Regions from separate parts of the Homo sapiens genome. Here regions 1, 2, 4, 5, 6 and 7 are each linked to region 3. Evidence: promoter capture Hi-C in human tissues and cell types (Jung and others, 2019). All regions are on one chromosome and are shown on one strand. Each heading gives the region's core, a stretch centred on a gene start or on the middle of the fragment in contact. The rest is flanking DNA. Distances are from core to core; before and after follow the strand shown. Region 1 overlaps GALK2 (galactokinase 2). Region 2 has its middle 9.8 kb from the start of ATP8B4. Region 3 holds the start of FAM227B (family with sequence similarity 227 member B). Region 4 overlaps ATP8B4 (ATPase phospholipid transporting 8B4 (putative)). Region 5 overlaps ATP8B4 (ATPase phospholipid transporting 8B4 (putative)). Region 6 overlaps GALK2 (galactokinase 2). Region 7 overlaps ATP8B4 (ATPase phospholipid transporting 8B4 (putative)).

The links. The method cuts DNA at HindIII sites, captures the fragments that hold promoters and counts their contacts. A contact is called where the count stands out against the background at its distance.
Region 1: a contact is called between a fragment that was not itself captured here and the fragment with the promoter of FAM227B in region 3, in 1 of the 25 tissues and cell types used here (hippocampus).
Region 2: a fragment that was not itself captured here is called in contact with the fragment with the promoter of FAM227B in region 3 in 1 of the 25 tissues and cell types used here (mesenchymal stem cells).
Region 4: a contact is called between a fragment that was not itself captured here and the fragment with the promoter of FAM227B in region 3, in 3 of the 25 tissues and cell types used here (IMR-90 fibroblasts, lymphoblastoid cells and mesenchymal stem cells).
Region 5: a fragment that was not itself captured here is called in contact with the fragment with the promoter of FAM227B in region 3 in 2 of the 25 tissues and cell types used here (IMR-90 fibroblasts and mesenchymal stem cells).
Region 6: a contact is called between a fragment that was not itself captured here and the fragment with the promoter of FAM227B in region 3, in 1 of the 25 tissues and cell types used here (thymus).
Region 7: a contact is called between a fragment that was not itself captured here and the fragment with the promoter of FAM227B in region 3, in 3 of the 25 tissues and cell types used here (lymphoblastoid cells, mesendoderm cells and small bowel).

Annotation. Positions count from the first base shown.
Region 1 is chr15:49,208,898-49,212,575 of GRCh38, reverse strand. The region is part of intron 2 of GALK2 (galactokinase 2); the gene reads right to left. Among named protein-coding and RNA genes, the nearest start is that of GALK2, 40 kb to the right of the region's middle. RefSeq lists a silencer at 677-877. The HindIII fragment of the contact is 4,469 bases long and covers 1-3,678 here.
Region 2 is chr15:50,127,262-50,130,705 of GRCh38, reverse strand. It overlaps a transcript of ATP8B4 not described here. Among named protein-coding and RNA genes, the nearest start is that of ATP8B4, 9.8 kb to the right of the region's middle. The HindIII fragment of the contact is 3,153 bases long and covers 269-3,421 here.
Region 3 is chr15:49,618,954-49,622,389 of GRCh38, reverse strand. FAM227B (family with sequence similarity 227 member B) reads left to right here and starts at 1,572. Exons shown (of 16, transcript NM_152647.3): 1 at 1,572-1,690. DTWD1 (DTW motif tRNA-uridine aminocarboxypropyltransferase 1) reads right to left here and starts at 1,342. Exons shown (of 5, transcript NM_001144955.2): 1 at 1,268-1,342. RefSeq lists an enhancer at 1,111-1,230. The HindIII fragment of the contact is 10,713 bases long and covers 1-3,436 here.
Region 4 is chr15:50,061,777-50,064,935 of GRCh38, reverse strand. The region is part of intron 3 of ATP8B4 (ATPase phospholipid transporting 8B4 (putative)); the gene reads left to right. Among named protein-coding and RNA genes, the nearest start is that of ATP8B4, 56 kb to the left of the region's middle. The HindIII fragment of the contact is 3,550 bases long and covers 1-3,084 here.
Region 5 is chr15:49,981,282-49,984,526 of GRCh38, reverse strand. ATP8B4 (ATPase phospholipid transporting 8B4 (putative)) reads left to right here. Exons shown (of 28, transcript NM_024837.4): 11 at 3,233-3,245. It also overlaps the pseudogene RNA5SP394. Among named protein-coding and RNA genes, the nearest start is that of ATP8B4, 140 kb to the left of the region's middle. The HindIII fragment of the contact is 3,413 bases long and covers 1-3,245 here.
Region 6 is chr15:49,282,138-49,285,290 of GRCh38, reverse strand. GALK2 (galactokinase 2) reads right to left here. Exons shown (of 10, transcript NM_002044.4): 7 at 1,573-1,725. Among named protein-coding and RNA genes, the nearest start is that of GALK2, 110 kb to the right of the region's middle. The HindIII fragment of the contact is 4,823 bases long and covers 1-3,153 here.
Region 7 is chr15:50,024,999-50,028,345 of GRCh38, reverse strand. The region is part of intron 6 of ATP8B4 (ATPase phospholipid transporting 8B4 (putative)); the gene reads left to right. Among named protein-coding and RNA genes, the nearest start is that of ATP8B4, 93 kb to the left of the region's middle. The HindIII fragment of the contact is 4,438 bases long and covers 1-3,347 here.

The DNA.
Region 1 (3,678 bases), core at 540-3,039, 410 kb after region 3:
AAATGAGAAAGGCAAAAGCAAATGAAATGCAGAATTAGTAGAGGAAAAGAATTCGGATCAGAGCAAAAATAAGTAAAATTGAAATTTAAAACTACAAAAAAAAATCAATGAAATTAAAAGTTGGTGTTTTGCAAACATAAACTAAATCAAAAAACCTTTAGCCACACTAAGTAAAAAAGAGGCCAGGTGCACTGGCTCACACCTGTAATCCCAGCACTTTGGGAGGGGAGGCCAAGGTGGGCAGATCACAAGGCCAGGCGTTCAAGACCAGCCTGGCCAACAGGGTGAAACCCCATCTCTACTAAAAATACAAAAATTATCCAGGCATGGTCGTGGACACCTGTAATCCCAGCTACTCGGGAGGCTGAGGCAGGACAATCACTTGAATCTGAGAGGTGGAGGTTGCAGTGAGTTGAGATAGCGCCACTGCACTCCAGCCTGGGCAACAGAGCGAGACTCCATTTCAAACAAAAAAGAAAAAGTAAAAAATAAAGAAGATTCAAATAAATAAAGTCAGATAATTTTTTTTAAAGATATTATAACTGATAGCAGAGAGTCAAGGCATCATTAGAGACTATTATGAGCAACTATATACCAACAAATTAGAAAACCAAGAAGAAAGGGATCAATGCCTAGACCCATATGATATGGCTTGGATCTGTGTCCCCACCCAAATCTCATGGTGAAATGTAATACCTAATGCTGGAAGTGAAGCCTGGTGGGTGTTGATTGAATCATGGAGGTGGTTTCTAATGGCTTAACACAATCTCCTGAGTGTGGTTCTCATGATAGAGTTCTCATGAGATCTGATCATTTAAAAGAGTATAGCACTTCCCCTCCCTCTCGTCCTCCTGCTCTAGCCATGTACGGCGTGCCTCCTTCCCCTTTGTCTTCCACCATGCTTGTAAGTTTCCTGAGGCTTTCCCAGCCATGCTTCCTGTACAGCCTGCAAAATTGTGAGCCAATTAAACCTCTTTTTTTAAATAAATTATCCAGTCTCAGATACTTCTTTATAGCAGTGCAAGAGCAGATTAATACAGAAAATTGGTATCAGAAGTGGGGCATTGCTATAAAGATACCTGAAAATGTGAAAGCACCTTTGGAACTAGGTAAGTGGCAGAGGTTGGAACAGTTTGGAGGGCTCAGAAAAAAGATAGGACGATGAGGGAAAGTTTGGAACTTCCAAGAAACTTGTTGAATGGTTGTGTCCAAAATGCTGATAATAATATGAACAATGAAGTCCCAGCTAAAGAGGTCTCAGATGAAAATACAAAACTTTTTGAGAACTAGAGTAAAGGTCACTTTTGTTATGCTTTAGCAAAGAGTCTGGAGGCATTGTGCCCCTGCTCTGGGGACCTGTGGAACTTTGAACTTGAGAGTGATGATATCTGGTGAAAAAAATTTCTAAGCAGCAAAGCATTCAAGATGTAGTCTGGCTGCTTCTAACAACCTATGCTCTTATGCATAAGCAAAGAAATGACCTGAAACTGGAATTTATATTTAAAAGGGAAGCAGAGTGAACAAGTTTGAAAAATTGAAGCCCAGCCATGTGGTAGAAATGAAAAGGCCGTGTGTGTGTGTGTGTGTGTGTGTGTGTGTGTGAGTGTGTGTGTGTGTGACAGCCAACATTGGGAAACCCCGTCTCTAGTAAAAATACAAAAATTAGCCAGGCATGGTGGCACATGCCTGTAATCCCAGCTACTCAGGACGCTGAAGCACAAGAATCACTTGAGTCCAGGAAGTGCAGGTTGCAGTGAGCCAAGATCGTGCCACTACACTCCAGCCTGGGCAACAGGGCGAGACTACATCTCGAAAGTTAAAAATAAAATAAAATAGACCAGGCACGGCGACTCACGCCTGTAATCCTAACACTCTGGGAGGCCGAGGCGGGTGGATCACCTGAGGTCAGGAGTTCGCGACCAGCCTGGCCTTCGTGGTGAAACCCTGTCTCTACTAAAAATACAAAAAATTAGCCAAGCATGGTGGTGGGTGCCTGTAATCCCAGCTACTTGGGAGGCTAAGGCAGGAAAATCACTTGAATCTGGGAGGCAGACATTGCAGTGAGCTGAGATCGCACCATTGCACTCCAGCTTGGGCAACAAGAGCAGAACTCCATCTCAAAAAAATAATAATAATAAAATAAAATAAAATAAAATAAATCAGCCACTAAAAAAAAAGGTAGAAATTTTGCATATAAACAACCTAATGGTACATCTCTAGCAAAAACAATCCAAATCCAAAATTAGTAGAAGGAAAGAAATAATAAAGATCAGAGCAGAAGTAAATTTGAGACAAAAATTAATGAAATGAAAAGGTAAACATAATAGCAAATCTTTAGCTAGACTGAGAAAAAGAGAACACACAAATAAATAAAATTAAAAAAAACAGAAAAGGAGACATTACAAGTGACACCACAAAATACAAAGGATCATTAAAGCCTATTGTGAACAACTATTATGCCAACAAATTGCAAAACCTAAAGGACATGCATAAGTTCCTGGACACATAAAACCTAAGAAGATTGAACCAGGTAGAAATAGAAAACCTGAACGCACCAATAACAAGTAACAAGATTGAAGCAACAGTAAAAAGTCTCCCAACGAAGAAATGCTCAGGACCAGAGGGCTTCACCCATGAATTCTACCAAACCTTTAAAGAAGAACTAACACCAATTCTTTTCAGACTTGCAAAAAAATTGAAAGGCGGGGAATTCTTTGAAACTATTCTATGAGGCCAGCATTATTCTGATACCAAAACTGAACAAGGACACAACAGAAAAAGAAAACTACAGGACAATATCTCAGTTGAACATATAATCAAAAATCCTCAATAAAATGTTGGCAAAATGAACCCAAGAGCCCATAAAAAGATTATATACCATGATCAAGTGGGATTAATCCTAGAAATGCAAGGAAGGGGTTCAACATACACAAATCCAAAAATACGATATATCACATCAACAGAATGAAGGACAAAACCCATATAATCTTTACAATCAATTCAGAAAAAGCATTTGATAAAATTCAACATTCTTTCATGATAAAAACTCTTAACATACTAGGTACAGAAGGAACATGTCTCAATACACAATAAAGGCCATATATGACAAACCCATAGCTAATGTCATACCAAATGAGGAAAAATGGAAAGCTTTTTGTCTAAGCACTAGAACAAGACAAGCATACCCAATTTCACCACTCTTATTCAAAATAGTACTGGAAGTCTGAGCCAGAGCAATCAGGCAAGAGAAAAATGTAAAGGGCATCCAAATTGGAAAGGAGGAAGTCAGATGGTCTCTACTTGTACACAACATGATCTTATACGTAGAAAAACCTAAAAACCATAAAAAGCTTTTAGAGCTGATAAATTCAGTAAAGTCGCAAGATACAAAATCAGTATTAAAAATAGCTAGTGTTTCATTCAATGTAAATGGCCCAAATGCTCCACTTAAAAGATAGAGAACCGCAAAAAGGATAAGGACTAACCAACCAACTATCTGCTGCCTTCAGGAGACTCACCTAATACATAAGGACTCACATAAACTTAAAGTAAAGGGGTAGAAAAAGGCATTTCATGCAAATGGACACCAAAGCGAGCAGAGGTAGCCATTCTTATATTAGACAAAACAAATTTCAAAGCAAGAGCAGTTAAAAGAGACAAAGAGGGATATTATACAAT
Region 2 (3,444 bases), core at 596-3,095, 510 kb before region 3:
CTCCTGGGTTCAAGCAATTCTCCTGCCTCAGCCTCCTGAGTAGCTGGGACTACAGGCGCCTGCCACCACGCCTGGCTAATTTTTTATATTTTTAGTAGAGACGGGGTTTCACCTTGTTAGCCAGGATGGTCTCGATCTCCTGACCTTGTGATCCGCTCGCCTCAGCCTCCCAAACTGCCGGGATTACAGGCATAAGCCACTGCACCCAGCCAAGACTCTTATTTTTTAGATGAAGAAACTGAGACCCCAAGAAGTTGAGTGACTTATATAAGAATACTCAGTTACTCACCAGAGCCTGGGTAATCTTATCACAGGAGTCCTGGGCTCTTACATTCTGTGCTAAGCCCAGTGCTACCAGTGGGAAATTGAGTTGCTACCCTCAGGTATTAGAGACCCAGACAAGTGGACAGGTGTGATTATAGCAAGGCAAGTGCCATGATGGGGAAAGGCAGCATATCATGGGAGCCCAGAGAAGCTCTGATTTCTTAAAATTCTCTGAAGAGGGTTCCTAGAGGAAGTGAGAATGCAGTTAAGACCTGAAAGATGTGGAAAATTTAGCCAGGTAAACAAGGCAGGGAAAGGGCATCTATGCAGGCTGTGAAAAGGCCTCAACATTCATATAGAGTAGAGAACCAAAGAAGTCTAGTCTGGCCAAGTGGTGGAGACCTCTAGATCTCTTTATAGCAAATGAAAATCTCCCTAGTACTCTACCATGTAATTTCTTTTCTTTTCTTTCTTTTTTTTTTTTTTTTTTTTTTTGAGTCAGAGTCTTGCTCTGTCACCAGGCTGGAGTGCAGTGGCACCATCTCGACTCACTGCAGCCTCCGCCTCCTGGGTTCAAGCGATTCTCCTGCCTCAGCTTCCCAAGTAGCTGGGACTACAGGCACGTGCCACCATGCTCAACTAATTTTTGTATTTTTAGTAGCGACGGGGTTTCACCATGTTGCCAAGGATGGTCTCGATCTCTTGACCTAGTCTACCACATAATTTCAATACTGGCCATTAATTAAAATCCCCTTTTGCATTTGTGCTGCATTGAATAGTGTGGCCCAAAATTCATGTCTACCTGGAATGTTGGAATGTGGCCTTACTTGGAAATGGAGTCTTTGCAGATGTTAAGATTGAGGTCATATTTGATTAGAATGGAGCCCAAATCTAATCATGTCCTGATAAGAGGGCCATATAAAGACATGAAGAAACAGAGAAGACGCACAAAGGGCATGCCATGTGTTGATAGAGGGAGAGTGTGGAGGGATGGGTCTACAAGCCAAAGAATGCCAAAGATTGTCAGCAAGTACCAGAAGCTGAAGAGAGGCATGGAACATATTCTCCCTCAGAACCTCCATAAGAAACCAGCTTTGCCAACACCTTGATTTTGGTCTTCCAGCCTCTAGAACTGTGAGAGAATCAGTTTCCCTTGTTTTAAGCCACCCAGCTTGTGGTACTTTGCTATTCCAGCCCTAGGAAACTAATACAGCGTTCTTGATATGAATTTGACTCCTCAAGATAACAAGAAAAAAAAACAGATTGCATTTAGTGATGGACATGAGGTAGCTGGGGTCACAATTTACTCACACTATTACCTATATGCCCTAAAAAATGTGGCTACTTAACTTTTATTTATTTATTTATTTTTTTGAGACGGAGTCTCGCTCTGTCACCCAGGCTGGAGTGCAATGACGCGATCTCAGCTCACTGCAACCTCCACCTCCCGGGTTCAAGTGATTCTTCTGCCTCAGCCTCCTGAGTAGCTGAGATTACAGGTGCGCACCACCAGGCCCAGCTAATTTTTGTATTTTTAGTAGAGACAGGGTTTCACCATGTTGGTCAGTCTGGTCTCGAACTCCTGACCTTGTGAGTTCTCGAACTCCGCCCACCTTGGCCTCCCAAAGTGCTGGGATTATAGGCATGAGCCACTGCGCCCAGCCTACTTAACTTTTTACAAAGGATCTGTCCTTTTTCACTAACTCACACACTCCAAAGGGTAAGTAGGGAAAAATAATCCCCAATAAACCTTCCACTGATCAATTTACCAACCACAGTCTTTTCCAGTTCAAATAAGCTTTTGATTATTTAGTCTTTTTTAGGGCCTTTGGGTGTCCCTCTCCTCTCCTGCTTCTCTCCAGAATGGCATCACAGAGAACCTGTGTGACTCTGTGACAGTAGAGGGAAGTGGGAGCCTTGGATCCATGCCAGGTCCTCTGGATTCTCTTTGCACAAGCAGATCTTGTCATTTTGGCCCAGGCCTTGCCCTTCATCAGCCACAAGGAGGCAGGAACATAGCCTCAAGCATCTGCAGCCACCTTTCTCCTCCAGTGTTCCATACTGCTCCCAGCTTTGCTGGATCTGATGCTCTGATGGAGAAGGGCACCCTTCAGACCCAAAGGAAATGGGTGCTTAGCCTAGATTTTCCATGTGACTCCAACTCTCTGGATGTTTCTAAAGCCAGCTCCCTCTTGAAGTTTAGCTCTGAAGCTAGGAAAACCCAGGACTCTGGTGTCTGTCTCCATGATTCCCCTTCTTTCGCTGGTCTCTGGCATGACTTAACTCCATAAGTGTTCCTCCTGCTTTTCTGGGGTGATATTAATTCCTTCTTTCCTTGACAGACTGGATACAAAACGAAACACTGGCTTACTCAAAAGAGAAGCTCTGAAGGTAGCACCTTCCTTACCCTGAAATGCACAGAAACATGGGGTTGCACAAGAAGTAGCTCCATCATCTGCTCATCTGCTGTAGCTCCTGGGCCTTGAGACTGGGGCACACTCTACCTAAAGATGGCTCAGCATTGGTGGGGATGTGTGCAGAACCACAGTGAGGCACACCTTGGTATTGTTCATCTGAAATTAATATTTCTTCAAAGACAGACCTTACTGGTGTTTGTTCCTCTCCCTATGTATAATGGGATATCTCTAGAGGACAGGATGGTCCTAGAGCTGCCTTGAACAGTTTTATCTCCCTCCTGCCATCCGATGCTTTAACCTCCTGCTCCAGTGCAGTCTTCTAGTTCTGTAGGATCAATTTCTTTGCAATCGGTATTATAGCACAAGCTGCAGCAGTTTATTTATCTAAGAGAGAATGCGTCTAGGTTGCTATCCTCAGAGATAGTGTGTATAAGGCAACATTTGAGGCCTCCATGACTCAATTCTTGCCTAATCTTTGCCTGGTCTCTGATCCATTAGGACCTAGAAATTACATTGACTGATATACTGAGATGATGGCAAACTCACCTTTGCTCTCCACATTCACGATTGCTGTGGGATGTATGTTTGTGACTCACTCAAGCCATTTAGAATGGAAGCCCAAGTCACAGTAGAGGAAGGCCATTGTTACTGAACTGAACATGGGTCAGTTAATCTGCCTGCCCATGCAGCAAAGCCAAATACTAACACTGGGATTGATTTGCAGTGAGGAAAAGTGAAGCATTTATTGCAGGGTGCTATGCAA
Region 3 (3,436 bases), core at 323-2,822:
TCAAAGTCAGGATTCTAATTCAGTTCCTTATTAACTCATAGATGGGCCACAGCAATGTCTTAAACCTCTTTGAGTACTTATTATTAGTTCCACATATTTGACATGGAAAAATGCATTTATTGTGGAGGTACTTTAGTGAATCTATCCCCTCCAGCATTCAACTCTGTAAGAGCAGATTCCTTCCCTGATCTCACCTATTCCTGATTCTTATGCAACAGCAGGAACTCAACAAACACTTGTTAACTAAATCAAAACCATTCTGCAAAACACATCCAGTAAGCATCTCACTACTGAAGTATCTGACAAACTACCTTTATGGGCCGTCTGCAGCCTAGCACAAGTGGCAGGCTGGCAATTTTTTTTTCTCCAAAATAATAACAAAAAGCTTCTACCTCTTCCATTATTGTAAGCTGACTCACCTCCCAATGGAACACTATACAGACTCCCCTGTCCTATATTGTGGACCAATTCAGTATTAGAAAAAAACCACTTCCAATTTTCTTTAGAGTGTTTTTAAGAACTTGGTCACATAGGACCTACAGGTCCAACATTCATTTTTCATAATCCAAGGTAGTAGTACCCTTTTTCATATAGGATCAATGGCCTCTCCCACACCACCCGCCATATGGTAACAAACTGTCTTGCCTTCGTTTTCATGGTGCACTGGGTTAGTCCTTACATGCTGCGATCTACAGTATTGATTTTACCATCCAACTTTGTGGGCCTGGCGACTGAAAATGTTAATATACTTCCTTATTTGTCCTACATTCCCAATAAATAATTTAGACGTAAGAAACAGGCTCTTTTGCTTATTATGTAACCACAACCTCAATATTTTAAATACACTGCATGGCATCACTAATTCTACGTCTGTACTACGCTTCCCCTTCCGTGATAACCAAACCCCCACAAACCACTCCAAATACTAAAAATAAAATAAAATAAAGTATGGGGTTCCTAGGGAACTGACTTTGCCAGGACATACTTTTCGTTGGGGCGGAATGCACCGAAAATCATTGGTAGGAAAAATAATTTTTTTTTTGAGGAAAAATTTGGAAACCTTTTTCCCAAAGGGCCCGCAAGATCCTAAAAAAAGCAAGAGACCGCGCAGAAACCGAGGATCCCCCTCACAGGCGACACCCAGCGCGACCTCCGCTAGGGTCCTGACAAAGAATGTCCACTTCCCGCGGCCGCACCTCTGGGGCCAGACCACTGGTCTCCAGAGAGGCGCGGGGACCTCCACCAGGGATCGGAGTGGTACTCAGACCTGCACACCCGCGAGTCCTCGAACAGCTCCACACGTCTCCAGCTCCGCCCGAGCCCGAGCCACGCGCCGGGCCGTGATCGCGCACGGACCAGACGGAGCGCTTTCCGGGAGACACCAGAGGGAGGAGCCAGGCAGTTACTAGCGTCGTTGCTAAGGCAGGGGCCGCGCACACCGCACACCGCGCGGCTTAAGCAACAGGCTGGGACGACAGCGGGGGGGGGGTTAGACGGGAAGTTCCGCCTCAGCCTCTCAATCAGCGGCGGTGTCGCACTTCTCCCGAGAGGCTCCGGCGAGGGGCAGGGCCGCGTTCGTCCGGGACCCGCCTCAAGCCTCGCAGCCTTTCACCCAGTTTCCTCCCGATTCTTGCTGGGACAACAAAATTGGGAAGCGGTTCTCGAAACATACTGTCAAGGCGTAGTTGCAGTGAGTTGTGAAGAAATGTTGATCCCAGAGAAAAGTTTGCATTTTGCCCACCTCAAAGATATTTTGATTGTGAGAACTTGGTTACATTAGTCTTTCGTGGCTATATCAATATCATTATTTCGTGTGCTGTGTGGTAATGAAAGCTATTAGAAAAATCATTTGTATCTTAATGATTTAGTTTGCATAAAAACACGCATATAGAGTTAAGAGTACTTTGTGTTTTTCCACTTTGAAGTATAATATGTGGATAAGTTATTAGAACATTTGTCCGTGCCTCTCCCCAAACAATGCGCAAACGGAAGTGCACTCTAACAACTAAGATTTTAAAACACAATGGTCAAATGTTGAGCAATGTTTTATTGACTACTCTGAATTTATCAAGTGGTAGATAAAGGACATTACAATGCCCTAGAAGTGCTCACGATATCAAGTAAAGCATGTTAAATTCAAGTACAGAAAATGCAATATTCTTACTACTGAGATAAAAAATGGAATTTAATAAATTACAGGAATTTCAAGAAAGCTGAGAATGGAGTGGTCAATAAAGGCTTCTTTTTCGGACTTGGGTAAGGCCTTGAAGAATGATTTAGGTTTAGGACAGTGTTTTTCAACTGGAAAGGGGATTGTGTGGGACCCATTAGTGGAGGTCTTGACCCATTTGTAAGCAAGGAAATCTCTTTAAACTTAAAAAAAAGAAACAATATAGATTGGAAATATCAGCGCATGTAAGTAAATTTAGTGTTAGTTAGTAAAGTACTGCTTTATGGAGCTTTTAATTGTATATATGCGTGTATGTGTGCACTAGGGCTTGTTTGTAAAATGTATTTCTTACTGTATTTCAAACCTTAAAAAGTTTGAAAGCCAGTGATTTAGGGAGAAAGGTGAATTTTCTGGGTAGGGAAAGTAGAATAGCAAAGTCTATAAGCCAAGAAGAATTCACAACCATTTTCCTTTTTAGTTTAACTCTAAATTTTATCAAAGTAGTTAAATTGCACAGATTAAAAAGCAAATAATACTACTTGTTAGATTGAGCATTGGGTTGCTATCGTATGTAATAAATTACTCCAAAATATGGTGGCTTAAAACAACCATTTTATTATGTTCACAGGTGGTGTTGTCAATAGGGCATAGTCATCAGCTTTTCTTTGGTAACTCAATTAGAAAGACTAGAGTGGGCATGCTAGCAGAGCTTCTGTAACTATATGGCCGGGGTTTCCTCACAGTATGGCAGCAAGGTAGTCAGACTTCTTAGCTTAAACTCAGAGCTCCAAAGGGAGTGTTGCAATGAACAAGGCAAAAATTGCCTGACCTTTTCTGACCTTGCCTCAAAAAGTAACGCGGTGCTACTTCCCCCACTTTCTTTTGCTTACAAATGTGTCAAAGTCCTGTTCCATTTTAGGAAAGGAGACATAGATCCCTCTTCTCAAAGGATTGGCAAAGATTTCTTGTCCATGTTTTAAAACCAGCATAGTGAATTTACTTCTGTAACAGAAAACCCCAAAATATCGGTGGTTTAATACACTTTTTTTTTTCCTCACAAAAGATCCATTGTGGCTATTTCTAGGCAGACGAAATGTTAAATTCAAGGCCAGATGTTTTTATTTTTAATGGTTCTGCTGCCTTCTAGGACTAGCTTGTTTGACAAGAAAGAAAGTATGGCAAATTACCCAAGGTTAACTCTAAAAATGACATGTATCAATTTGGCCACATTCTGTTGGCCAGAATTTAGTCCCAAGGCCCCCACTT
Region 4 (3,159 bases), core at 60-2,559, 440 kb before region 3:
TCGGTGTTGTTCTCATGATAGTGACAGTGAGTTATCCTGAGATCTGGTTGTTTAAAAGTGTGTAGCACCTCCTCCCTCTCCCTTTTGCTCCTGCTTCAACCGTGTAAGATGTGCCTGCTTCCCCTTTGCCTTCTGCCATGATTGCAAGTTTCTTAAGGCTTCCTCAGAAGCAGAAGCCTCTATGCTTTGTGTACAGCCTGCAGAACCATGAGCTAATTAAACCTCTTGTCTTTATAAATTACCAGTCTCAGGTATTTTGTTATAGTAGCATGAGAATAGACTAATACATCAAGTATACAATTTGCAGGTTTATTACAAAAGTAAGCTACTTAGGCATTAAACTTGAAAATTCTTTAAAAATGATCCAAGACTTGGGCTATATATTTGTCAATAAATCTGTGTCTATTGCATGACTGTGTGCACGGAGGTAGTGTTGTAGTTGTGAGGAAGTGTATACAGTTTTGTAAGGATGTTTTTGCTTGAATAATGAGAGACTGTTCTCAGAGGAATTAAGCAGAGGACAGCAATCAGAGTCACATGCCAAGACTGTTGATCTAAATCTCTAGCTCCTGATACCCTTGACTTGGTGTCTCTAGCAGTCCTGATTGTACTGGGTTTTATGTGTCCTCCTTGGTTGTCAGTTCACATCATTACAGATGTGGCTGTTCAGGTGTCATCTAGGTAAGTTATAGATGGTGACATCATTGTGTACCAATTGTCCAAAAGTTTAGGGAAGAAGGGCTTTTTTTATACAAAAGGAAAAACCTGATTTCTTAGGTACTGCAAGGAAATTAGCTTCAGTACAATACACTGTGGAATCTCAGTGTGGAATTATCCTTTAAAGCTTTTCCATTCAACTCTCTTTACAGAATTCTAACCAACTCCATGTCCTGTCTGTGCTTTTATCCCTTTAGAAGAGGGGACCTCATTACCTCCCCAAACAGCCTTTTCTTTCTTTGGGTAGTTTTAATCATTAGGTAATTTTTCCATCAATTGAGCCAAATTGATATTCTCTTGCTTTATTTTCCATTGTTTTAGCTTTTCTTCAGAGACCAAAGCAGAGCAAACATGTCTTCTGTTTCATGCAACAACACTTCAGATATTTGTGTTTAAAATATCAAACACAAATTCATCAAATAAACAGATCTCCAGGAAAATCACCTGCTATTCCTTTTCTTTTCAAAGAGCCTCAGTTTTTCTATAACTTCTTCAAGTGGGTTCCTCCAAAGTCAAACACAATAGTCTAGAATTTATTTGACCATCTTGAAGTAGAGAAAGATTATTAATACAGTCTAAGACTGTACTATCTTTTCAGTGACTGTTGAGTCTATTAATCTCATATTAATTTTATTTTTATTGTTAATGACAAGAACCGTGTCACATTTATCTCCATATCTTGCTTGTCATAGGGCTTGTTGGCACATAATAGGCACTTACTCTGTCATTAAACTATTCCTTTTATTATTGTATCTATGTGGACTTTAGCATCTCTCTGTATTGTCATTGATAGTTAAACAAATGGGCCAATGAAATCAGAAGCTTTAGGGGTGGAGTCCAGGCATTTTTTTTTTTAAAGCTCCCCTAGTGATTCTAATGGGCAACCTGGATTAATCACTGATCTAAGTTAATAATAAAAATACTGAGCACAACACAATGAAGAACATGGCCATGCGTCTTATCACTAGAGACCTCCCTATAGGTTGCTGTTGGGCCATTAATCATTACATTTTGTTTACTTAGCTAGTTCCAATTTCTATAATGAACTGTCTTTGCTGGCAGCCCAATTTTTGTTTAATTATGTAGTAATATTGCTCTCTGTCTTAATAAGCAGAAAGGCTTTTTTTTTTTTTAAAGACATCTATTATAGTGCTGGTTTAGATTATTTCTACATGTATGGAAGCAGAAGGATAGAATGAATAACTGAACTTTGAAGATTCCTCCCCAAGTCATATTCCTATGATTCTTGCAAACCACTTAGTACCATGTGTGATATTTCAAAGACTCTTGTAGATTCAATACCACAAAAACGCCATTGTCCTAAGAAAGACGATTTTGAGGTTAGAAGCACAAATGAGCTGAACTTCTTTGCAATGCTTTGCAGAAAAAGAAATGCTTTTCTAGGTGAGAAAATGAGCTAAAGGAATATTTGATTTTTTTTCTCCCTTGTACTCTGATATGAGAAAATTAATAAACTGCATGTTGTGCTAAATAATGTGAAAAATCTATATTTGTGCTAATGCCTATCTTTCTCTGGCAAAAGAAGTTCTATAGGTTATGTACTGAAAATTATTGTGATGCATCATTAATTATGAAAAATTATATTAGCTCATGTTATTTTCTCATAAGTGGAATTGTCTTCCTCTCATATATTATTTTGTATTTTTTCCAATTGGGTTTATCAGCCATGTTGTCTTGGACTGTTCTTGCATTGCCATAAAGAAGTACCTGAGACTGGGTAATTTATAAGAAAAGAGGATTAATTGGCTCAGTTCTACAAGGCTGTACAGGAAGCATAGCAGCATCTGCTTCTGGGGAGGCTTCAGGAAGCCTCCAAACATAGTAGAAGGTGAAGGGGGACCAGGCACATCACATGGTGAAAGCAGGAGCAAGAGAGTGAGTGGGAAGGTGACATACACTTCTAAATGACAAGATCTCACTAGAACTCACTATTGTAAGGACAGTACCAAGGGGGATGGTGATAAGCCATCCCTTAGAAACTGCCCTCATGATCCAATCACCTCCCACTAGGCCCCACCTCCAACACTGGAGATTACATTTCAATATGAGACTTGGGTGGGGACACACATCCAAACTATATCACACGTATTGAGTAATTCTTGCTTATCACTTTGTTAAATGCTCTAGACACTTAAAAACGTATAAGGTCTCAGCCCTTCAGGAACTCTTGGAATTTTGAGATTATTTCACATGCATAAATGAAATAACAGTATTAGACATTACAAAGTTAAGTATGAAAATGAATAGTGTTAGCTTATAATAAACATTTTCACTGTATCTGAGTAAGGAAGATAATTTTCTAGGAAGAGATAAATGCATTTCTTTTCTTAAAGTTGTTCATATTGGTAATGTCTTTCAAAGAGAATGAAAGAATGGTAAAATACCATGTTTCATTTATGTAGTGTAAAAATGACCTGACTT
Region 5 (3,245 bases), core at 385-2,884, 360 kb before region 3:
GGGTCCAGTAGCCATTCCTTCCCTTCATCCCTTCTGGCTCAGGTGGAGAAACAGCTTGCTTGCTACATGCCCTTGGTTAATGCACTAACCTTTTGTTTCCCCTATAATCCCACCTATGCTTTTTGTAAAGAGTTCTTTTATAAATAAAACTTCCTCCAATTCTCTTTGTTCAATGTGTCATCTATTTCCTTTTAGGATCCTGAATGAGACACAGTCTTAAATATTGGTTGACTATTTCATATAGTTTTAGAAAATAGTAAAGACCAAGAACTTTAGAATTACTTATGTCGAGGTTCAAATTCTCGCTCTGACACTTACTAGGTGAGAAATCTCAGGCAAGTTCAATTATTTAAACTCAGTTTCATTATTAGTGAACTGAGGATAATAGTACCTAATTTGTTAGTTTGTTGTAAGCATTAGCTGAGATTATAGGTGAAATGTAGATGTTCAAAAAATTAATTTGCTTAAAATACTTACAAATTATTTATTGAATGTCTACTATATGCTGGGCATTATGCTACTTACTCATTGGGGATTAAAAATGTGAACAAAAACAAATGCAGTACCTTCACTCATATGATTTTCAGTATGGTAGGAGAGAGAAAGAGGCATTAATCTCAAGCCAAAATCATATCAATGGCCAAGGCCCTGTGGCAGGAGTAAGGAAAGTGAGGTCAAAAAAGAAGGCCAGTATGGGGTATGGAGAGCACAGAGGATAGGGATGGATATGGGACTGGAGACATGGATAGGGGCTAGACCATGCTGGTAGACCTTGTGGTCAGTATCCAGAAGTTTGGTCTTTATCCTAAGAGCTTAGGGACGCCATTGTAAGTTTTCAAACAGGTGGGGTGTATATGTGTTAATTGTGAAAAGCTTAATCTTGCCAACACTGTTTGTAATGTTTGTAAATAGACAGCAGGTCCTGGGGTTGGGAAGGAGGAAAAATATTGGTTAGTTTTGGGGGCAGAGTGGATACAGGGAGACAAAGTTTCTAGGTTTTCACAGTTGAGAGGTGATGGTCCCTCAGATTAGGAAAGGAGAGGGAAGTAGATAAATTCAGAAGGCTTTTAGAAAGTTTAGAAAGTTGAATTGACAAGCTTTGATGACCAGGCTTGAAGGTGAGGATGATAAAGTTATCAACTATGACTGAGGTTTCTTCCAACCTTCGCAACTGGATGGATGGTGATGATGCTCACTGAGATAAGAAGCTTGGAGGAAGATTGTAAGCCAGATTGGACAAGGGCCACTTGAGAGGCCTTAGAAGAATCCAGGTGGAAATATACAGGCAACAAAATACGTAGGTTTAAATATATAGATTTAAAGCTCAGAGGAACAGCATGAGCTGGGGATACACATCTTGTCTATATTATTAAAACTGTTGGTCTCAAAGCTACGGTCTTAGGTGAGATTGCTCAGGGAAGGTAGATTGAGTAAGAAGATAAGGTGACCTATGCCTGAGTCTTAAGGATTCTCAGTCTTTAGTAGCTGGGTAAAGGGAAGGGAGAGTAAGTATCATGGAAGACAGGAAGGGAGCTACCAAAGAGGTAGGAAGGAAAGCAGGAGAATATTATAACACAGAAGCTAAAGGAAGAGTATGTTTCAAAAGGATGGAATAGTCAACAGTGTCAAAGGTTGCTGAATAGTCAAGAAGTTATGGAGGATATTGATGATAACACCAGATCTGTTTTGGCGTTGTGATTGGCCCAGAGACTGGGTTGAGTAACGAGTGGGAGATAAGAAAACGGAGGCTGTTGAGTGTAGAAAATTCTTTCAGGATGTGCATATAAACATTTGTGGTTATATTTACATAAATGCTTAATAATCCATAAAAAGGATTCCTTATTAGTCTGTGTGCATTTGTGTGCCTAATGGAATGTACATTTTCAGCACCTAACTGGTCTTTTCATATTTCAGTTTTTAGCAACCACAAACTTTATGTGTGTATGTGTGTGTGTGTTTTTTTTAAGCCTACAGCACCAAATATCCCCAGTCTCCCATCTAAGTACTAACCAGGCCTGACCTGCTTAGCTTAGCTTCTGAGATCAGATGAGATCAAGTATGTTCAGGGTGCTATGGCTACAGACTATTTGGCCTTTGTGATCTTTACCATAAAAGAAATATTTCCCACCCTCAATGTTCATATGATTTTAATAAATGATTCTGAGAAAATGTGGGTGGTCTATACACAGCAGTAGCTAGGAATAGGATACTGCAGTACAATTTCCAACTTAAGACAATGAATTGTTATGAAACCTCAATTATTGCTTCTTTTTTTCTTTTACATAAAGAAAAGTCTTTTAAGGATGTGCCTGTCCTTCCCTGACTTCTGGAGTGGTATATAATTTTGGGTGTGCCTCCCTTTTCTCCTTTCTTTAATTTCCCCCTTTCTCCTATATTAAATGGCTCTATGGATTGAAAATCATGAGGAGAATATGTGAAGAGGAAACACTGGAGAAATTAGCTTTAATTAAAACTTAATTGCTTCTATTTAGCATTTTCTCTGTCCACAAGGAATTTCTTTAACAATATTTTTCAATATTCTTATTTGTTTATCATCTAATAACCCACTTCTAAAGCAGTTGATTATATTCTTAGAATTCCTGGAACAAGGCACTTATCATGGGATAATGTAATTACCTGAAATAAATCTAACACAACATTTAAGACAGTTCTTGTCTTTACAAAAATTACATATTACATACGTGCAGTATACAATACACAATAAAGGTTTAAATTACTTGCTGATGTATTTTGGGGGGCTATTCTAGTTTCTCCTTCAAAGGGACCTCAAATCTTTTTGGGAAACAGATCTAGAATTTGATTTATTTTTCCATTTTTTACCTTAGTGTTCTGAATTGTGTTTGTTGCTGCATTATTTTTAATATTTCCAAATTATTCCTCACTTTTGTTGACTTTGTTATCTTTAACTATGTCAAACTAGAAGCATATTCATGTATAGACATTGAAAAAATAGCTTCACTTAAACCTTTCAACTACAAGTTCTGACTGTATTTATCCTAGTCTAAGAAGATCACATCTCTTGCAGCTTCCAGGATTGTTGTTAACCTAATTGTTGAGAATCATGTACAACTTAATGGCCCTTGCTCTTAATAAAAGTTAAATTATTGTGAAAAATATATATTTTTTTCTTTCAGAGACATTTGATATGAGCATTAATAAGAATACATAATCATATCATTTCAAAGTTATTTACTTTTTTTTGTTTTTGCAGGTCCTGACACTAA
Region 6 (3,153 bases), core at 265-2,764, 340 kb after region 3:
AGTATACTGGAAACCTAAGGAAGAGAATATTTCAAGAGGGAAAGACTGGTTAACTCTGTTGAAAGATAAGAAATAACAATGAGAAATAAGATGAAGACTGAAAAGCATCCACTGGATTTACCAATGAAAAAACCTTTGGTGGCCTAAGAAAGAGCAAATTCAACATTGTGGAGAACGCAGAAGTGAGATTTTAGTAAATTAAGGAATAAGAGGGAGGTAGAGGAGTAAAGATAACATATATAAAGCAATTTTTGAGAAGTTTAGCTGTGAAGAGAATGAAAAAGTAGAAATAGAAATAGTAGATGGAGAGAGTTGTGAGGCTTAGGGTAGACTTTTCTAATACAAAATACTAGAATAGGTGGAGTCTGATAGAAAGGATTTAGTAGAGAAATAGAGGCGAGGAACAAGTTAAAGATGGAGTGAGTTCCCTGCAGCCACACATGGAAGGGCTGGCTTTGACAGGAGATGCAGATATAGAGAGACATACAGATATGATGACAGGAAGCCAAAGTCTATGTGACCACATCTATTTCCAACATGAAATATGGGAGAAAATCACTTTTGGAAGTTAGGCTGAATCAAGTAATGGGTATTTGAGAGAAGTAAAGAAGGTATGAAATTATTACTACTGAGAAAATAGATTTCAGGCTGTATTTAAGACCTGGTAAAGGTTGATCATAAGTCTTAGGTGATATCCATCAGTATCCATCAGGAGATCAAAGCAAGAGTGGAAGAAAGCACAGTGGAGCTCCTGACCCAGAATCCACTTCCTAGCCTCCAGCCTCAGTCCTCTCTCCAACTTTCTAGTCGTATTATGAGCTATTCTGGATTATTTATAATATTTAATTACTGTGTCACTTGTTGGATCACTGGATTACTTACTATCTGATCACATATTAACCATTTCCTGTTTCATAATCCCTTAACTTGAACTCTTAACTCTACTGTCCACTCTCTCTAGTCCCATGTCCTATGTCCCTTTGTATATCTTCATGCCGCTAGAACTACAATAGCTAGTCAATGAATACTACCTAAATAGATTTAAGGTTTAACTGTGGCAGTTTTCTAAAGAGAGACTTCCAAGACTCCCTGCTGGTTTGTGTTTCCCTAGTAGACATGTAAAAATCTTCTTTCTGGGTACGGGGTCTGGGGGGACTTCACCAATCCTGTATTTTTGGAGTAACGAATGATAACCCAATAAAAAAACTGCATCTTAGAGGACCAGGAGGGGTGAGGCTGCCATCACTTTTGTTGAGGAAACAAGACCAGCTGTGGTCATTCCCATCAATTGTCCCCAACTATCTTTCTCCACCCATAGACCTAACCTATAATTCTGCTTCACATATATAAGCTGCCCTTTTCTTCCCAGTGCCACCCCAGAAGACTCAACTGGTTCATCTGTCTTCTGAGTTAGAAATCAGATTTCTCTGTACCCAAAGACCTTCAGTTGGAATGCTGTGCAGTCAGAATGTTGCCCTAAAATTTGGGGAAAGAGATAAAGTAATAGAGAACAATGAAAATAAAGACAAGAAAAACCCTACTTCAAGTTTCACTAGCCTGCCAAGTTCATACCTTCGCAGCCAGCCGACACTCCATCACCCTGATATTGAAATGGGAAGTTGCTGCCTTATTCATCTCCACACAACTGTTGGCAATCACAAACACTGCTCCACTTGGGAGTTTTACATCGGTTGCCCTCAGAGGACTAAATTCTATCAACTTGGCCTGTTAGAAGAAAAATGAAAGGAGAAATATAATTTATTAGAATGCAGAAAATGTTCAAGTGTTTATGTATTTATCTTAAAGTGTTTTGTCAAAAATGCATTCATTCATTCAAATATTACTTATTGACCTCCAGGCGCTGTACTAGGCACTGGAAATACAACAGTGAACAGGAAAGACACTGTCATTCCTCTCATAGAGCCCGCAATCAAGTGGGAAAGACAGTCTAGTAGACAGACAAATACCTTTCCAAGTTGTGTTACAATGGTAGCAAAGCACAGATGCTATATGGATACATAGCTGAAGCATCTCATCAGTACAGCCTACTGTAGGTTCCACTCAGTTGAAAAAGAGAAATCTAAACTGAGTTCTAAAAGATGAAAAAAGTAGGGCAGACAGAGGGTTTCTTTCCTCAAAAAGCATGTCAAGAAGAGGGAAGAACTTAGGCAAGTCCAGGGGCAAAAAACAACATGGAATGTTAATGGAGCTACGGGCATGGAAATTTGGTTAGAGCTTACAGTTTGAGGGGTGAGAAGTGGTGAGAGGTTAGGATAGAAGGGTAAAGCAGGGGTCAGATGGTGAAGTGTTTTGTAAGCCCAAAGAACTTAGACTGTGTTCAGACTCTATAGCTAACTTACATTAACATCAGGACTCTGGCCCTCATGTCTGCCTGTTGCGTCTCATCCAAAACACCCAAAGTATTTTCTTAGTATTAAAACAAATTTCCTCATGCCTCATGTCTTTGGCTTAGGGGAATCAATAACAAATATTCTTACTAAGAAGGAATCCAGGTGTTCTTGGAAAATAGCCAAGCCTGTAGGAATCTGATGAAAAACTAAGAAAATGTTTTAAAGAAATGTTTGCTCTATTTTGGAAATGAGCAGCTTATGAGCAACAACTAAAACCTCTGCTCTGCCTAAAGGAGTTGATAGCCAAGGGGAAGCGGTATCCAGCTAAGGAATTCATTCCTGGCTTACTGGCAACATTCTTTTTCCCACCACTGAAGCCCCAAAAATGTTGACAGGAAAAATGATACCAAAGAGTAAATTATAAAAAGAGGGACTGTGAATATATGTGGTAAGAGAACTATGATTTGGGTTTAAAACCAACAAGAGATTATAAAAATGCATGAGATGAAGTGATTTAGGATAGGAGCAGGAAATGAGGTTCCAATAACTAGGGAATTGAGAAAGCTCATCTTAACAATGAAGAAAAATAGAAGAGGGGAAAAAGCTAGACACATGAGAAAAACAGACCTGAGTATCATTCTGGAAGCGTAAGAGAAAGGCAATCAACATGAAATAGAGTAGATTAACTGGTGGCAGCCTTGAGTTACAAGCAGTTGGGAAATAATATCCTACAATAGAGCCTAATATAGTAGGCTGTCCATAACCAAGCATCCTGGGGCTCTCAGGGCCTTCTTCTCCATGT
Region 7 (3,347 bases), core at 724-3,223, 410 kb before region 3:
CCTTATTCCATGTTAGGCATGTTCTAATTCTCTCTGCTTACTGATCTTTGACAAGAATCAGATGTGCAATACTGGAAGGAAAAGGAAAAGATAGAGGCAGACAGCATAGAAAGTAAGAGTAATGATCTCTAAATTAGATCTAAGGACTCAAAAGGACCTGGGAAATTTGGGGGCTGTAAAAAGTAACATCATCAGCAACATATGGAAAGAAGACTCTGGCAGTGACATTGTGGAAGAGCTGTGAGATGAGGAAGCCTGGGAAATATAATTGAGAGTGATACTGAATATTGTAGAAGGAAGGTAATGGACTCTAATGATGGAGAAAGAATAGATTTTGAAGATGTGAAGAAAGTTGATGGTATTTTCTAATGGAGAATACAGTAAGTCCTCACTTAACATTGCTGATAGGTTCTTGGAAACTGTGACTTCAAGTGAAACAGTATACAGTAGGTCCTCAAATAACGTTGTTGAGTTCAAAGTCATTTCATTATAGCATGGGTGAGGAAAAACTTGATTTTGTTACATTTCATTACACTTAAAATCATAGTTTTCGAGGACCTATCCACGACGTTAAGTGAGAACTTACTGTCTATGGTGCAATAAAGTACATTTTCCATAAGCTTAGCATTCCTTCACAATAAACACTTACTGGATTTTAAATTTGCTTAATGTCCAGTGTTCAGTCCAGTATGATGGAGTTGCAGGGGGAAAGAAAAAAGTTAAGTATTGAGAAATGGAATTGAGTTTGGAGAGGGCTTCATGGAGGAGAGCACACAAACAGCAGTGGAGATTTAAGGGGCTCTGTTGGCAACGGGACGAATTTCATTCAGATAATCTAGCTGGCTCAGTGTCAATCAGCATGTACTAGGGCTTCCTCAGGGATATGATAGAGGTTTTATAGGAACATTGAGAGTAGCAGCAGGGATTCATGTTTTCCATCCATCCATCCATCCATCCATCCATCCACCCATCCATCCCATATTTAAATAACACTTCTGAGTACCAGCCACTGTGCTAGATGCTACGGACACATGGACTATTAGGACCCATGTCACTGCCCTCAAGGAGTCTGGGGTCTAGGGGAAGAGATGGACAAATAAACAGACTCTTATTTGACAGCAGTAGGTGCAAGGAAGTATGAGGTGCTCCAGGTGCACTGGGTGCTTTGGGTGCACACATATGGGGTAGGGATGGCTAATACTAGTTTTGGAGGGCTAGTGGCAGGGATTTCATTGTCTCAGAATAACCCTTGATAGAATTGGCCCCCCAGCAAAGGTCAGCCATTGAACAGCTAATGGAATGGTGGGGTGAGAGGGTGGGGAGAGCATTGGAGAACCCAGGAACAGTTCAGGCCATAGAGGATTACTAGGTCTTTACAGGCTTATTGAAGAGGGAGGCTGAGAATATGCTGGATGAAAAATGAGCCCAAATCCACCATCTCCTGTCCCTCCAGTTATGTGCTCTGGTGCAATGTGGTCCGTCACAAGTACCATCTTCATATGCAGGCTACTCATTGTAAGACTCTTGGGCAACACAGCAGTGAGAACCTCTGTTGTCTTTCTACCCCACAAGGCAGGAAGGCATTGGGAAAAGTCCACTAGCCTGGTGTCAGGAGGCTGAGGTTCAGTCCTGCTCTGTCATGAATTGGCTACATGACTGAGGACCAAGGACTTGAGTTTTCTCATCTATGAAACAAAGATATTGGATACCAGTCATTTTCAAACATTTCTTTTTCCAATAAGCAGAACCCTTTTCAAATGAAATCTTATGTATAGTGCAGTTGCTCAGAGCAGGTGCTCTCGGCTGCCCTCTCACCCTTTATGGTAGATCTTGAGGAGCCTCCACAAGCATCACAGCACTGGTCAGTACTTCTGCACATGAGGTCTGAGGACCACCTGCATCTGAATCACCCAGGTGCAGATTCCTGGGCTCTTTCCCGGACCTCTTGAATCAAACTTTTTGGGTCTGGGACTGAGGACTCTATTTTTAATGAGCACTTCATGGGATTCTCATGTACATTGAAGTTTGAGTACCACTAGGCCAGATATTTCAAGGTTCCTCTCAGGCTTTAAGTACAGTGACTCTGTGATCCTCTTCAGCTTTGGTGTGATGGTGAGGAGCCAAAGAAGGGGAGTCAGTGACTCCACCTGATAAAAAGATTTAACAGCAAATGGAATATTGAAAGTATGAGGATGGATTTGATAGTAATAGTAGTAGAGATGACAGTGGAACAAGGAGGGTAGGATCTGAAAGTTACAAAATGGATTAGGTAAGGAAGAAGAACTTTAATCATCGGGTCTTCCAACAGTGGAGATAAATTGTATTCCAGATGGAAGAAATTGTAGCAAAAGGTGTCAGGAGACAATTCAAAGCATGAGGCTACTAGGGTAATGTCCTGATCATATTCCCACCATCTTTCTTTGTCTTGATAATAGCACTCTATTATATCATGACACATAGTATCATAATGGTCTCCTTACCTTTCATTTACTTGTCAATCTTTATTGAGTGAATCCTGTGTGCCAGGCATTGAGCTATATTCTGCAAATGCAGGTCAACCCAAACAGACATGTTCTCTGCAATCACAGAGCTTAGTGTCTGGTCAGGGAAGTAGATAATAAAATAGCCATGCTAAGTAGTGTATAATTACAAACCAAGGCAAATGCTGCTAAGGAAAAGAGTGTGGTTCTAAAGACAGGTATTTTTTTGTGGGGGTTGGTAGAGGTGAGGTGAAGCAGTTTAGGAATGGATTCTTTAAGGGAGTAGTACATTTGAGCTGAAAACATAATGATGACTAGGAGTTAACTAGGCAAAGGTGGTAATAGGAGTTGGAGCAATGGGATGAGAAGAATTCCAGAGGGAAAATCATGTGCAAAGGTCCTGTGGAGGGGAAGGAGGATGGTGATTATGAGGGACTGATTGGCAGAAGTCCAGAGAATAAGGCGGAGAGAAGAGCAGGGGCAGACAGGGCTGGAGAAGCCATCAGAGGCCAGACCCTGCAGGGCCTTCAAGGCTACATTAAGAGTTTGGGTCTTTTTCCTCATAACAGAGAGATTGTGTGGAAGGGTTTGTCTTTGGAAAATCTCATACCTGCTGCATGGGAAGAAGCTAATGCAGAGGGGTCAAGATAGATATGGGGAGAGGCTAATTGCCTATTGCTATACTTGTCTGTCTGTTCCTATTACTGCTGTGACTTACTTGAGGCTGAGACAATCTCCATATTCCCATGCAGTTGATACGCAATAATTACATGATAGTGGGCAAAATGCACTAAAGTGAATTAAATAAAGCCTCTTGGGGCAAAAGCAGAATATATTTTAGACTCCTCTTTTCTTCCCTGTAACTAA